Regions from separate parts of the Homo sapiens genome. Here region 2 is linked to region 1. The links are contacts of gene promoters, found by promoter capture Hi-C in blood cells and fetal thymus (Javierre and others, 2016). All regions are on one chromosome and are shown on one strand. The core of a region is centred on a gene start or on the middle of the fragment in contact, and the rest is flanking DNA. Distances in the headings are between cores, read along the strand shown. Region 1 holds the start of CXCL17 (C-X-C motif chemokine ligand 17). Region 2 overlaps LIPE-AS1 (LIPE antisense RNA 1).

The links. Contacts are between HindIII fragments. The CHiCAGO score rates a contact against its expected background, and 5 or more counts as called.
Region 2: a fragment that was not itself captured here is called in contact with the fragment with the promoter of CXCL17 in region 1 in 2 of 17 cell types (neutrophils and M1 macrophages); the score reaches 6.0 in neutrophils.

What each region holds. Positions count from the first base shown.
Region 1 is chr19:42,439,175-42,445,830 of GRCh38, forward strand. It overlaps CXCL17 (C-X-C motif chemokine ligand 17), which reads right to left and starts at 3,772. Exons shown (of 4, transcript NM_198477.3): 1 at 3,580-3,772. The coding sequence starts at 3,658. All of the region lies in intron 1 of LIPE-AS1 (LIPE antisense RNA 1), which reads left to right. RefSeq lists a silencer at 1,201-1,290. The HindIII fragment of the contact is 2,256 bases long and covers 2,726-4,981 here.
Region 2 is chr19:42,540,863-42,547,518 of GRCh38, forward strand. The region is part of intron 2 of LIPE-AS1 (LIPE antisense RNA 1); the gene reads left to right. Among named protein-coding and RNA genes, the nearest start is that of CEACAM1, 16 kb to the left of the region's middle. The HindIII fragment of the contact is 3,488 bases long and covers 1,471-4,958 here.

The sequences.
Region 1 (6,656 bases), core at 2,522-5,021:
GCCCAGAAGGTGGAGGCGGCAGTGAGCCAAGATCACACCACTGCACTCCAGCCTAGGCAACAGAGCAAGACTCTATCTCAAAAAAAAAAAAAAAAAAAAAGAAAAAGAAAAAGGAATAACTCTTTCTTATGGCAGAATTCCGATTAAATAAATGTAGAAGGAACAATGGAAGTAGAAAATCACTATTTGGCCAACACCACAGTAATAATTCTTTATAGGAAACAATCATCCATAGATTCTAAAAGTTAATATTAAAAGTATGATGATGCCATAACTGGTGAATAACAAGAAAAAAAAAAGTATGATGAGAAGAAACAGGCTATTTACATATTTCCAAAGTGTCTCTCCACAAGATACTTATTAATTACAATAAGATGAATAGTAACTTTACAGTAGAGAAACCTGGCAGACACCACCTGAACCAAGTGCTTAAAGTGAACCTCATCAGTAATGAGAGATATCGACATCCTGGGGCTCTTGCTGGGATGTCCAGAGAAGGATACATCACTTCTGAAGTATTCTTGCCCAAAATGTGTAGCCGGAAATATCAGACAAACCCATATTCAGGGGGCATTCTACAAAACAACTGGCTAGAACTCTTCAAAAGTGTCAAGGTCCTGAAAGAGAGGGAAAGACTGAGAAACTATCCCAGGTTGGAGGAGACCTAGGAGATCTGACATTTTATTCAGTGGGATCCCAGATTGGAGTCTGGAGCAGAAAAAGGACATGAGTGGGATGATTAGCAAGATTTGAACATTTGTAGATTAGTTAATATTATGGTATCAGTGCTAATCTCCTGGTTTTGATAATTGTATTATGGTTACATAAGATATTGTTTGAAAACAATTGGATGAAGGCTGTACTGGAACTCTATTTTTACAATATTTTTCAAAGTCTGAAAAATGAAAAGTAAGAAAAAGTAAGAAATGCATTAGATTTGTGAGGACAAATGAGATAGTAAGTGTGAAGTGATTAGAACAATGCTTGTGATATAGGAGTTCTTAATGTGTCTGATATTATAAGTAATTTTATAATTAAATAATATTATAATTAATGAATAATCTGTTATTTTAAGTAATTTATTTCCTAATGACCTCATATATTCTCACTTATTTCTATTTCCCTTAACCCTGTGAAAAGCATATTGAGCATGTATGTGATTAAGAGATAAAATAAGATTAGACTTTATTCTGAGATTTATTTTGGGGATGGAGGAGCTATTATTTCCTTTAGCCACTAAGTAGCTCAGACTCAGGCCTGCACTGCAAAACTTTGCTTGGCTGGGAAACAAGATTTGAGCCCGGCCGCCACCCACTCGACGTGGTTTGTGATGGCGCCCCCTGGTGGCGCAGGGAGCTTTCCCCAGTTCCTCACCCTCGTGCTTTAGGAGCGACTTAGAAACTACTCAGTCCATTTATTAAACCCTTTCTAGGACACGCTGCGGATCATTTAATCTTCACAAGTGTGTGTGACAAGTGGTATTTTCTTCATTTTAAGATGATAAAACTGAAACTCAAAAAAGTGAGGCGACTTGTCTAGGGTTGCAAAGTGTGTGGCAGAGCCAGGATCTAGGTCCCCCTGACTTCCAAGCTGAGTGTAAAGGTCTAGGTGAGTCTAAAAGTGTGGCCATGCAGAGAAGTATTGGTGTAGAGCAGTGGTTGTTGACCAAGGGTGGTTCCCCCTCCGGGGTCATTTGGCGATGTCTAGAGATATTTTTGGCTGCCATAACAGGGGTTTGGATGAGGGAGAGGGGAGGCTGCTATTGGCATGTAGGGGAGAGAGGCCACGCGGATGCTGCTGAACATCTCACAATACACAGAACAGCCCCCACCGCAAGGAACTGTTCAGCCCAAATGTCAGTAGAGCTGCTATGAAGCCCTGGTTTGATTTAGCAACCTGAGGATGCATTCTTGCAGTTAGCTAATGTTTGCTGAGTACTGAGCTGGATAGCGTGAGGGATATGGAAACAGTGCACCAGTCTGTGTCACCAAGTAGTTTGCAGCCTAGAAGGACAGGGGGTGGGGGCAGGAAAGGCACATGAAGGCCCTCAATATAAGGCAGCAGATGATAAGTGCAAGAAGAGAGTGTCCAGCAGGGCTAAGCCAGCGCTCAGGAGGGAGACCACATGTCTGGCTGTGGGAGGAACTGAAGGAAGCTGTGGGAAGGTGGTTTTGAGCTGGGTGTGTGAGCAAAGTTGAACTGGTGGAAAAACACAATACCTGTTCAGGGAAGGGCAAACAGGTTAGTTTGGTTGGAGAAATAGTATTTTTAGTGAGTAGAGGGAGGTACACTAGAAAGGCAGGTTGGGGCTACAGCTTTGAATCCAGGCAGAGGACTCTAGCCTGGGTGTCTGTCATAGTGATGGAAAAGTCTTCCCTTTCAGAACAGTGGTCTAGGCCCTAGGGCTATGGGGCTTAACAGCTTCCAGAGCACTCTCTCTACAAAGGAGGGGATGTTGGAAATTGGGGTGGAGAAGGGAGAATGCCTCCTGATTTTAGGACCAAGTTGATGCTGAGTATGTAACATAGCCATTTCACCTCAAAGTGGCCTTTGGGGAGATGGTGCTCACAAGCGGAAATATACATGGGGATCAGGTCTTTTCTGCGTGGTTGCTCTGTGCAGGGCTGGGCCACTTTATAGTGAAAGCTGGAGCAGATTTGGAACCCCTAAGCTAAAGTCGGCTTCCCAAAATGTGAGCTGTTACAGCAGGGCTTGCTATGGATAAAGCTTCAAATATGGACACTACCTGGTGACAGGCTTTTTCTAGTTTATTACGTTACCAGTAAATAGCATTAAGACATGTTGGTGGCATTCCAGTGCACTGTAAAGAATAGAAGCAAGGACTTCCTGATCTTCTATAAAGGTACCATTGCCTTCAACACTCTCCCACCATCATCATTAAGTTTAGCCATGAGAATTATGTTACTCTTTTGGAAAAGTGTTGGGGGAGAAGGCATGGGAGCAAATCTTTGTTGAGCTAGTATATACATACATACGTACGTGTGTGTGAGGGGGATCAGCTACAATTGCAGATATCTTCTTTTCTTTTCTTTCCTTTTTTTTTTTTTTTTTTTTTTGAGATGGAGTCTCACTCTGTCACCCAGGCTGGAGTACAGTGGTGCCGTCTCGGCTCACTGCAGCCTCCACCTCCTGGGTTCCAGCAATTCTCTGGCCTCAGCCTCCTGAGTAGCTGGGACTACAGGTGCGTGCCACCAGGTCTGGCTAATTTTTTGTATTTTTAGTAGAGATGGAGTTTCACCGTGTTAGCCAGGATGGTCTCGATCTCCTGACCTTGTAATCCGCCCTGCCTTGGCCTCCCAAAGTGCTGGGATTACAGGAGTGAGCCACCGCGCCCGGCCAGTTGCAGATATTTTCACATACAATATCTCGTTTAACTCTCTCAACATTGTTTGGGTGTAAGTACAGTTTGCTGTTTTTTTGTAAAGGAGGAAACTGGCATTGAGAAAGGCTCACTTGCCCCATCCCCCATAGCTAAGAGAAGCTGCATTTTGATGTGTCTGTGGCCTGTTTTGCCACATTTCTCCCCCCGTTTTCCCCTTCATAGACAGTCTTGTTTACCTGGATTCAGGCTGCTAGAGACCATGGACATCAGCATTAGTGGCAGCAACAGGAGGAGGGAAGAGATTAGAACTTTCATCGCAACTGTCGGTGCAGCTGTAAGTTGCTTGAAGAATATAATGGAAGGTTCCCTGCTGGAGGCTCCTGATCCCTGGGGATGACTCAGGTCAGGATACTCAGCCTGGTGGTCTATGCTTTAGTCCCAGGCCAGCGTTCCCATTTGAGGGCGAGAACAGGTGAGGTGACGCTGTCTTGCTGTTACGTAACAGATTAGACCATGTGCTTTATGGGAATCTGGGAGGTGAAACTGGTCAAACAAAAGAAATTCAGCATTCTTAAGAACATAAGAAGGTGACTGATAACTTGGCAGCTGTGCCAGTTCTCTCCTGTACTCTTTCCCGCCTCCTCACACCCCAATGCCTCATGATTTCTTCCTCAAATCTTTTTTTCTTGCTTGGATTTCCTTATACCTTTCAATGACCCTCTCTATCTGAATATTTGGCAGGAAAGTGGATACTAAGTGTTGGTAGAAGAGACTTTGACAAGGTCTGTTTCCCCTCTGTGCTCCTGCTCCCATCCTTGGCAAAATATCGGCAATAGTAGTGTTGTTGCCTGGGAAGTTGCCCTGTCCTCTCTCTGTTCACAATTCCCTCCAATTCTGCAGCCACATAAGATGGCAGCAGAGCAGGATCCGGGACAAGAGGCAGCTCCCCTGCCGAGAACACCGCCCCTGGAGCAGTGGGTGACACCAGGCCTCCTTGTGTGTCCATCGGGAAGGTGGCCATGGCTTAGTTGTTCTGGTCTAAAGGGGAGGGAACTGGGTTGGGGGAAGAGACCCCCAGAGCTTTAGGTCTCAGAGGGTTTGAGAAACAGGAGCCACAGGAGGGAAGGAGCCCTGAAGTGTGTTTGCCCAGCTGCTGGGGCGCCTGGCTCCAGCCCTTGTTTGGAAATGGCCCCGGGCAAAAGAAGAAAGGTAATAATACTTGAAGTAAACATTAGGGGCATAGAATATCAGCACTCACTAAACTTGACATTTATTTGAGACTTTAGGAAATGTGCTCAAAGGGAGAGGAGAGGCTGGGCTTGAATGCTGGGTGATATTCATGGGGGCTGAAGGGAAGGCTAACAAGGGAGCCCTTTTTTTGGAAGCCTCCAGGCAGGAGTGAGAGCAGGGGGTGTGACTTTATTTCCCTGAGAGAAGGAAAGAGGAAAGGCATGAGTCAAAGCCCTTTGGTTTTGTTTGACCATTCTTTTTTCTCCACGTTTTCAAATTATCTCGGCCTGTTGACTTGTCACAGAGTTGATTGTGGACTTTGCTACTGCAGTGTTTATAAAGCACTGCAGGGGCCAGGGACTGCTATGACTGAGCCTGTGTCCAAGTTGAAGGCTCAGGGTGGGCCTAAGCTTGTTCTGATGCAAATCACTGATGTGGCTTCTTTCTGGAAAATTCTAAAACCAGGGAGATGACATCCATTTCATAAAGCCTAGAGATATGGGTGCAGTCATCTCTCAAAGTGGCAGGAGTGCAGGGGGACTGAGAGGGACTTGGTTGGGTGGAACTTGAGCTGGAGTTGGGGGAGGATTTGGGTTGGTGGAGGGCAGAGAGGAGGGCCGTGCAGAGCAGGGGCGTGTTGTAGGAGAGGTGCCTCCTGGAGCTCATTGGATGGGGATTTTAGAGGACAGGAGCTGTTCGTGTTCATTTTTGTATTGCTTGAACTTACACAGGGTCTGGCACTTTGGGAGTATTCTATAAATGACTGTTGAATGGAATGATTGTTTTGTAGCCCATTAACTGGGCCTGATGTATTAGAAAGTGTGCGAAAATGTAGCCCATTAGCAGAAAGAAAATCTTACTGAAAAACCATCCCATGTACAAATGGAGCCTGGTGCGGCCACTTTACTTATGCTGCTGAGTTCTGCATCAGTCCACACCCAGGCCACCGCAGGGGCCGGGAGCTCCTCCTCAGACCTACCTCCCGTGCCTCAGTCTCTTTACCCCTCTGTTCTTCCAGGTCCTGCTCCCTCTGGTTTCCCCTCCATGCACTTGGGGTGGGTGTTGCATCCTGTGTCCCATTGGAGGGGGCTTCCGGTCTGTTAGGTCTATTAATATAAAACACCCCCAAGACAAATGGACTTTTTTCTTGTTAACATCACAACTTCTTATGATGCATCTCAAGAACATTATTTGTGTCAAGAGTCTCTCTGATGTACAGAGGCCCTCCATTCCTCAGGAGGAGGTAAGGGGAATTTGGGAGAAAACACCGCCCTGCCTGGGTTACTTATTTCCCTATTCTACAGTGTACTTGGTAGACATTCAAAAATATTTGTTGACTTTGTCCATGATCCACATGGCTCTCATATAGTCATTTATTCACACATACATTCAGTGAGACTTTGAGCGCCTAGTGTGTGCCTGGTATTTACTAGATGGTGGATGCTGAGATCAGGTGTGCTGCTGTCTCTGAGGAGCTCTCACTATACAGTGGCACCTAGGGTGACCGAATCCACCTGCCCCACTTTACAGACATGGAAATTAAAGTGCAGGGAAGTTATAGGATTAGTTCAACAACACAGTCAGTAGCCTCAAAGTTACAGGAGTAAATCAAGTTTTCTGACTTGCTGGATTTTCTATTAGTGTGCAGCTACCTGGCTGCTGCAGGTGTAGACGTGGTGAGCTCCGATAGGAGAGAGGACGTTCAGAGTGAAATGGGAGCCCTGAGCACCCTGGATTAACCGGGAGGACATACCGGGTCCAGCTGTGACCGCACAAAGGACCATCAGGGATATTTGTATTCTCTTTTTCACTTTGAGCTTGAAATGAAGAAAACTGACCCCAGGAAACCAAGAGTGGAAGATTTTTCACAGGGGATTAGTGAGATGCGTCAAAAAGCCTGTGTTGGATGGGTGCCTGTAATCCCAGCACTTTGGGAAGCTGAGGTGGGAGGATGGCTTGGGTCCAGGAGTTTGAGACCAGTGTGGGCAACATGGTGAGACCCTGTCTCTATAAAAAGCTTTTTTGTTTCTTGTTTTAAAAAGAAAACCCTTTTCTGATGTCTGTCACGGTGTTTCTCACTGAA
Region 2 (6,656 bases), core at 1,965-4,464, 100 kb after region 1:
CAGCCACGTGCCACCATGCCCGGCTAATTTTTGTATTTTTAATAGAGATGGGGTTTCACCATGTTGCCCAGGGTGGTCTCAAATTCCTGACCTTGTGATCCACCCGCCTCAGCCTTCCAAAGTGCTGGGATTACAGGTGTGAGCCACTGCGCCCGGCCTAATTTTTGTATTTTTAGTAGAGATGGGGTCTATGTAGCCCAGGCTGGTCTCATGCTCCTGACCTCAAGTGATCCACCTGCCTTGGCCTCCCACAGTGCTGGGATTACAGGCATGAGCCACTGCACCTGGCCCAATGCCTCTTTCAGCGATATGAAGTTAAAACCAGGTACTGTGATTGCTCCCCTGGTTTTGGTTCTTGTGACAGTGCTTTTCTCTGTGCAGATTAAAATGTAGTGTTCCAGTGGTGTGGGGGTGAGGGGACAAATGGTGTAGGCGTCTATTCTACTGTCTGGCTGTTTGGGGTGATGAAAATTTTCTGGAAAAATTAGTGATGATGGTGGTTTAACATTGTGAATATAGTTAATTCCACTTGTGTATTTAGAGACAGGGTCTCACCATGTTGCCCAGACTAGACTCCAACTCCTGGCCTCAAGCAATCCTCCCTCCTCAGCCTCCTGAGTAGCTGGGGCTACAGGAGCCCTCCATCAGGGCTCTGTAGTAAATTCCATTTAATTGTACAGTTTAAAATGGTTAAAAGATACATTTTTTGATATGTATATTTTATTACAGTTTTAAATAAGTATTTGGTGAAAAAAACCCCACCATATAAAATACCCACCCTGGGCAAATAGTCCTCAAACTCATGTGCGGACCCCTCATGACATTCTGTGCAGAGATCCAATGATTTAGACATGAGACTGACCAGACAACTGCAGATGCATGAAATAAATGTACTTTCAAAGAGACAGTTCCGCTGGGACCTGTGGGCCCCGCAGAGGGGAGGTCAGCAGCCCCCTGGAAAGGCCCTAGGCTGGGGCCCTCTGGTGGACAGTGAGGAAATTGTAGACGAAAAGGTCATGCCAAACTGGTTTGTTTAAAAAAAATCATCGTTTGTTTTTAATGTGTCTAGACAAAATTTCAACACTGTCATGTTCCATATATTTTCTTTCGCAGTGTTCTTTGATTCTAGCTCTTCTCTGGTGTGTGTGTGTGTGTTTTTTTTTTTTTTGAGACGGAGTCTCGCTGTCGCCCAGGTTGCAGTGTAGTGGCGCGATCTCGGCTCACTGCAGGCTCCGCCCCCCGGGGTTCACGCCATTCTCCTGCCTCAGCCTCCCGAGTAGTAGCTGGGACTACAGGCGCCCGCCACCTCACCCGGCTAATTTTTTGTATTTTTAGTAGAGACGGGGTTTCACCGTGTTAGCCAGCATGGTCTCGATCTCCTGACCTCGTGATCCGCCCGCCTCGGCCACCCAAAGTGCTGGGATTACAGGCGTGAGCCACCGCGCCCAGCCTCTCTGGTGTTTTAAAACAAGCTTACACTAAACTCAGATGTTCAAAGTCTGATGCCCTGCCACTTTCTTACTTCAGTGCATGTTTCTTTTTCGAGACGGAGTCTCGCTCTGTCGCCCAGGCTGGAGTGCAGTGGTTCTATCTCGGCTCCTGCAACCTCCGCCTCCTGGGTTCCAGCGATTTTCCTGCCTCAGCCTCCTGAGTAGCTGGGATTACAGGTGGGTGCCACCACACCCAGCTAATTTTTGTATTTTTAGTAGAGATGGGGTTTCACCATGTTAGCCAGGGTGGTCTCGAACTCAGGTGATCCACCTGTCTCCACCTCCCAAAGTTCTGGGATTATAGGCGTGAGCCACTGCGCCCGGCCTCAGTGCACGTTTCTTATAATTCCTTTTAAAATCTGACCATTGTCATGGGCATGCATCAAGTCTGTGAATGCAGACCTCTGGGATATGCCCAGTGGGAATACTGGGGACTCAGGGAATAGTTATCACCCAAGGTAGGATGGCATGAGGCAGTATCAAGGGACACCTGCAGGGGGGTGGGGGTTGTGTCCCACAGATGGTGGGAGCCACAGATGGTTTCATCAGGACAGAGGCACAATAACCGCATCTTGATGGTCTCAGGGCTTAGACTCACCTGTTGCGTCCAGAACCAGGCATTGACCAGGGTTCAAATTAGTGCTCCACCTGCAGAGCCCTGGGCAGAGATGGACAACAGCCTCCCCCTGCAGGACAGTCAGTGCAGGGCTGGGTCACCTCAGCACTCCACAGGCCTTTGCCTGCAGTGTTCTCCTGGCCAGGGAGGAGGCCAGGCCCATCCCTGTCACATCATCTAAGGGGCTGTCTGCCCTGAGGGTCTGCAGAAGAGTTGAACAGAGTAAGGGGCATAGGAAGCAGTAGAGCCGTGTCTCTTCTTGAGCTGTGTTAACTTTTGTCTTCTTAGTCCCTGAGGTCACTCCCAAATGTGGGCATCTAGACCTGAGGCAGGAGGGTAGGACGGGGCCAGCTTCTTGGCATGTGACCTGTGTTATCACATGGGGGCCTGTGCTTAGAAGGGTCCTGCACTTAATATAGTGCCCTTCTGTGGCTGTGTTGAAACCCTCTTAATCCTGTCTTGAAGAAGGATACTGCATTTTCAGGTTGCACTGAATCCCCCACATTATGTGGCTCTTCCTGGGTCAGGAGCAGGGAGAGGGAGAGGCCATGAGATGAGGGGGAGGCTCAGGGCTGGATGGGACCCATGTCCCCTAGGGCTCTGTGCTGCCCTTGTCTTAGGACCTGCAGGGCGGTTTGGTCTCATCTGTTCACTCCCAGTGTCCACTGAATGGTGCTTGTATAGCAGGGACTGTCCCACTATCCAGGACAAGCCTATAGTGTGTGTGCTCACTCAGTATGTGTGTCAGGCTGGACAGAACCTCACTTTATCCCTGTCTGCTGTGGGATCTGCAGCAAGGATCCCCTCCTGGGAGTCTCGGTGTCTCTGTACCTGAGTGGTGGGATGAGGAGACCTCAAAGGGCCATCTCAGAGGGGACTCAACAGTGTTGGGGCTGGAGGAGGCCTGGGCTCTGGGGCCCGAGGATGTCACACACCTCTTGAGTCTTTTGAAATGGTTTCATCTGTTATTTTGAAAATCATATAGGTGGCTGGGCATAGTGGCTCACGCCTGTAATCCCAGCACTTTGGGAGGCCGAGGCGGGTGGATCATGAGGTCAGGAGATTGAGACCATCCTGGTTAACATGGTGAAACCCCATCTCTATTAAAATTACAAAAAATTAGCCAGGTATGGTGGCAGGCGCCTGTAGTCCCAGCTACTCAGGAGGCTGAGGCAGGAGAATGGCGTGAACTCCGGAGGTGGAGCTTGCAGTGAGCTGAGATCACACCACTGCACTCCAGCCTGGGCAACAGAGGGAGACTCCATCTCAAAAAAAAACAAAAAACAAACAAAAAAAAAACGGTCACATAAGAAAGCACACTTATTGTAAATTCCAGCAATATAAGCGCTTGTAAAATGATGTGTCAGATCCCTGACCCCACCCCACTCCAATTCCATTTCCAGGATGTAACCACTGTTTGCAGTTGGTATGAATCTTTCAATAATACTTTCTCATTTGTCCCACTCATTGTTTATACAGCCAAACATTAATGAATTATATTATTAATTGGTAATGTTGTTTTATAGTGAAGCATGTATGGTGGACACTTCCTTTCTCAACACATGTGGATTTGCTCCAATTGTGTTTCTTTTTCTGTTTTAGAGGTTTTATTTTAGGTTCAGGGGTACATGTACAGGTTTATTATATACATAAACTGCATGTCACAGGGGTTTGGTGTACAGATGATTTTGTTACCCAGGTATTAAGCCTAGTACCCAACAGGTGTTTTGTCTGATCCTCTCCCTCCTCCCACCCTCCACCCTCAAGTAGGCCCCAGTGTTTGTTCTTCTCTTTGTGTCCATGGGTTCCAATCATTTAGGTCCCACTTAAAAGTGAGAACATGCGGCTGGGCATGGTGGCTTACGCCTGTAATCCCAGCACTTTGGGAGGCTGGGGGGGGGGCGGGGGGTGGATCACGAGGTCAGGAGTTCGAGACCAGCCTGCCCAGTATGGTGAAACCCCGTCTCTACTAAAAATGCAAAAATGAGAACATGTGATATTTGGTTTTCTGTTCCTCTGTTAGTTTGCTAAGGATAATGGCCTCCAGCTCCATCCATGTTTCTGCAAAGGAAATGACCTCATTCTTTTTTGTAGCTGTGTAGTATTCCATGGTGTGTACGTACCACATTTTCTTTATCCAGTCTACCATTGATGGACATTTATGTTGATTCCATGTCTTTGCTATTGTGAATGGTGCTGCAATGAACATTCGTGTGCATGTGTCCTTATGGTAGAATGATTTATATTCCTCTGGGTGTATACCCAGTAATGGGGTTGCAGGGTCAAATGGTACTTTTGTTTTTAGCTCTTTGAGGAATTGCCATACTGCTTTTCACAATCGCTAAACTAATTTACATTCTCACCAACAGTGTATAAACGTTCCATTTTCTCTCTCTCTTTTTTCTTTTTTAGACAGTCTTGCTTTGTTGCCCAGGCTGGAGTGTAGTGGCACAGCCTCAGCTCTCTGCAAACTCCACCTCCTGGGTTCAAGTGATTCTTGTGCCTCAGCCTCCTAAGTAGCTGGGACTACAGGCGTGCACCACCACGCCTGGCTAATTTTTGTATTCTTAGTAGAGTCGAGGTTTCATCCTGTTGGGCAGGCTGCTCTTGAACTCCTGGCCTCAAGTGGTCCTCCCTCCTTGGCTTCCCAAATTGCTGGGATTACAGGTGTAAGCCACCGTGCCCAGCACATTCCTTTTTCTCTGCAACTTCAGCAGCATCTGTTATTTTTTGACTTTTTAATAATAGCCACTCTGGTGTGAAACGGTATCTTACTGTGGTTTTGATTTGCATTTCTCTAATAATTAGTGATGTTGAGCATTTTTTCATATGCATGTTGGTCCATATGTTCAAGCTTTTGAAAAGCATCTGTTGATGTTCTTTGCCTTTTCATTGCTTTCCCCTTATTTATTTTATTGCATGGCTACACTGTGATGCTTTATCCACTCGCCTATTGGATTTGACGCTGTGTCCCACTCTTCATGTTGACAAGACATTCTGCAGTGACTATCCTCATACACATATCTTTTCCCCACGTGGAGTATTAATCCAGGAACTCATTCATTCAGCTCTTATAAAGTACCCTGGCCAGGCTGTGGGCAGGTCAAGGGCTTTAACAGAGACAGGGCAGGCACAGTCCTGCCTTCTCAGAGCTCACCGCTCAGTGGGACTCTCAGAAGTGGGATAGTGGTCAAAGCGTATGCACACTGAACACAATGAGGCCAGGGCTGGGTGTGATGGCTGAGTTCAAACCTGCAATTCCAGAGCTTTGGGAGGCCAAGGCAGGAGGTTGCTTGAAGCTAGGAGTTGAAGGCTGCAGTGAGCTATGATCATGCCACTGTACTCCTGCCTAGGCAACAGAGCGAGACTCCATCTCAAAAACCTCCACAAGACCTAAAAAATCATGGGCCAAAGTTGTTGTTGTAAGTACTGCAGTCCCATCAGGAATATATGAAAATGTCCATCTCCAGTATCCCCACCTTTCTTGGAATAATGATTGAAGTAGAAAGTGCCCGTGTTCTTGTGCCTACCTCTGCCCACACACCGTCTTCACTTACACTTAGTCATCCACCACTTACCCTTTCACTAAGTGCTATTGATTATGTCCATGTGGTGGACCAGATGCCAGGAGCCCCAAGATGTCCTGAGCAGCTCCCTCTGCTCGTCCTTCCAAGAGTTCTGGTTCCACAGGTGACCCCTGTAGAACCTGTGATTACCACTGAAGGCTGACAGTGAGTGGTGGGTGTTCCAGGAGGGGCCGTCACCTCCATGTACAGGGTTGGGGAGGGTGGAAGGGAGCAAGTGGCTGATGGCTTTGGCTGTAAGGCAGGTGGACAGGCTGATGTGGGCTCCTGGGAAGGGATGGAGAGGGGAGGGGAGGGGAGGGGAGGAGAGGGAAGGGGAGGGAAGAGAAGGGAATGATACAGAGGTTGGAACCTGCCTTCATGGACCAAGAACAGCAGGGAGGCCATCCAGGCTGCAGCTGGGGAGGGAAGATGTGGGGAGTAGTGGGTGAAGGGAGAAGCAGACTGTGATTGATCTTGGGGGCTGGGCGGTGAGCAGAGGTGTGTTACGTGTCTGTCCCTGCCATTGATATGAGGAGGGGTGGGGCTGTGGGTGACACCTGGGTCAGTGGGATTTCCTAGTGTCTGCTGTTCCCCAAAGCCTCTCCATATAGAGGGTCAGTATAGATCTGATGCTGTGTCTGGGGGAAGGGGCTGGTGGTCCGAGGCAGCCTGTGGTGCTTACTGACCCTAGGGATGAAAGGAAAGGGATGAGGAAGCCTCTTTACAGTGAAGCCTCAGGTATGTGAAGCCACAGGTGTCTCACCTGGTGACTGTCATCAGACATGTGCCTTGGGTGACAGTTTCAGGGTTCAGGTGGTTGTTATTGTTATGATGTTTGCCTGACAAGGACCCAGGTATCCAGGGATCGAGAGCACAAGACCCCTGGTGAGGGGAGGGTCAGATGAGAATGAGCAGGTTCAAGTGGTCAGAGTGGGAGGGATTCCTGGAGAGACTGAACCTCAACTCTTCCTGTCAGGAGCTGTG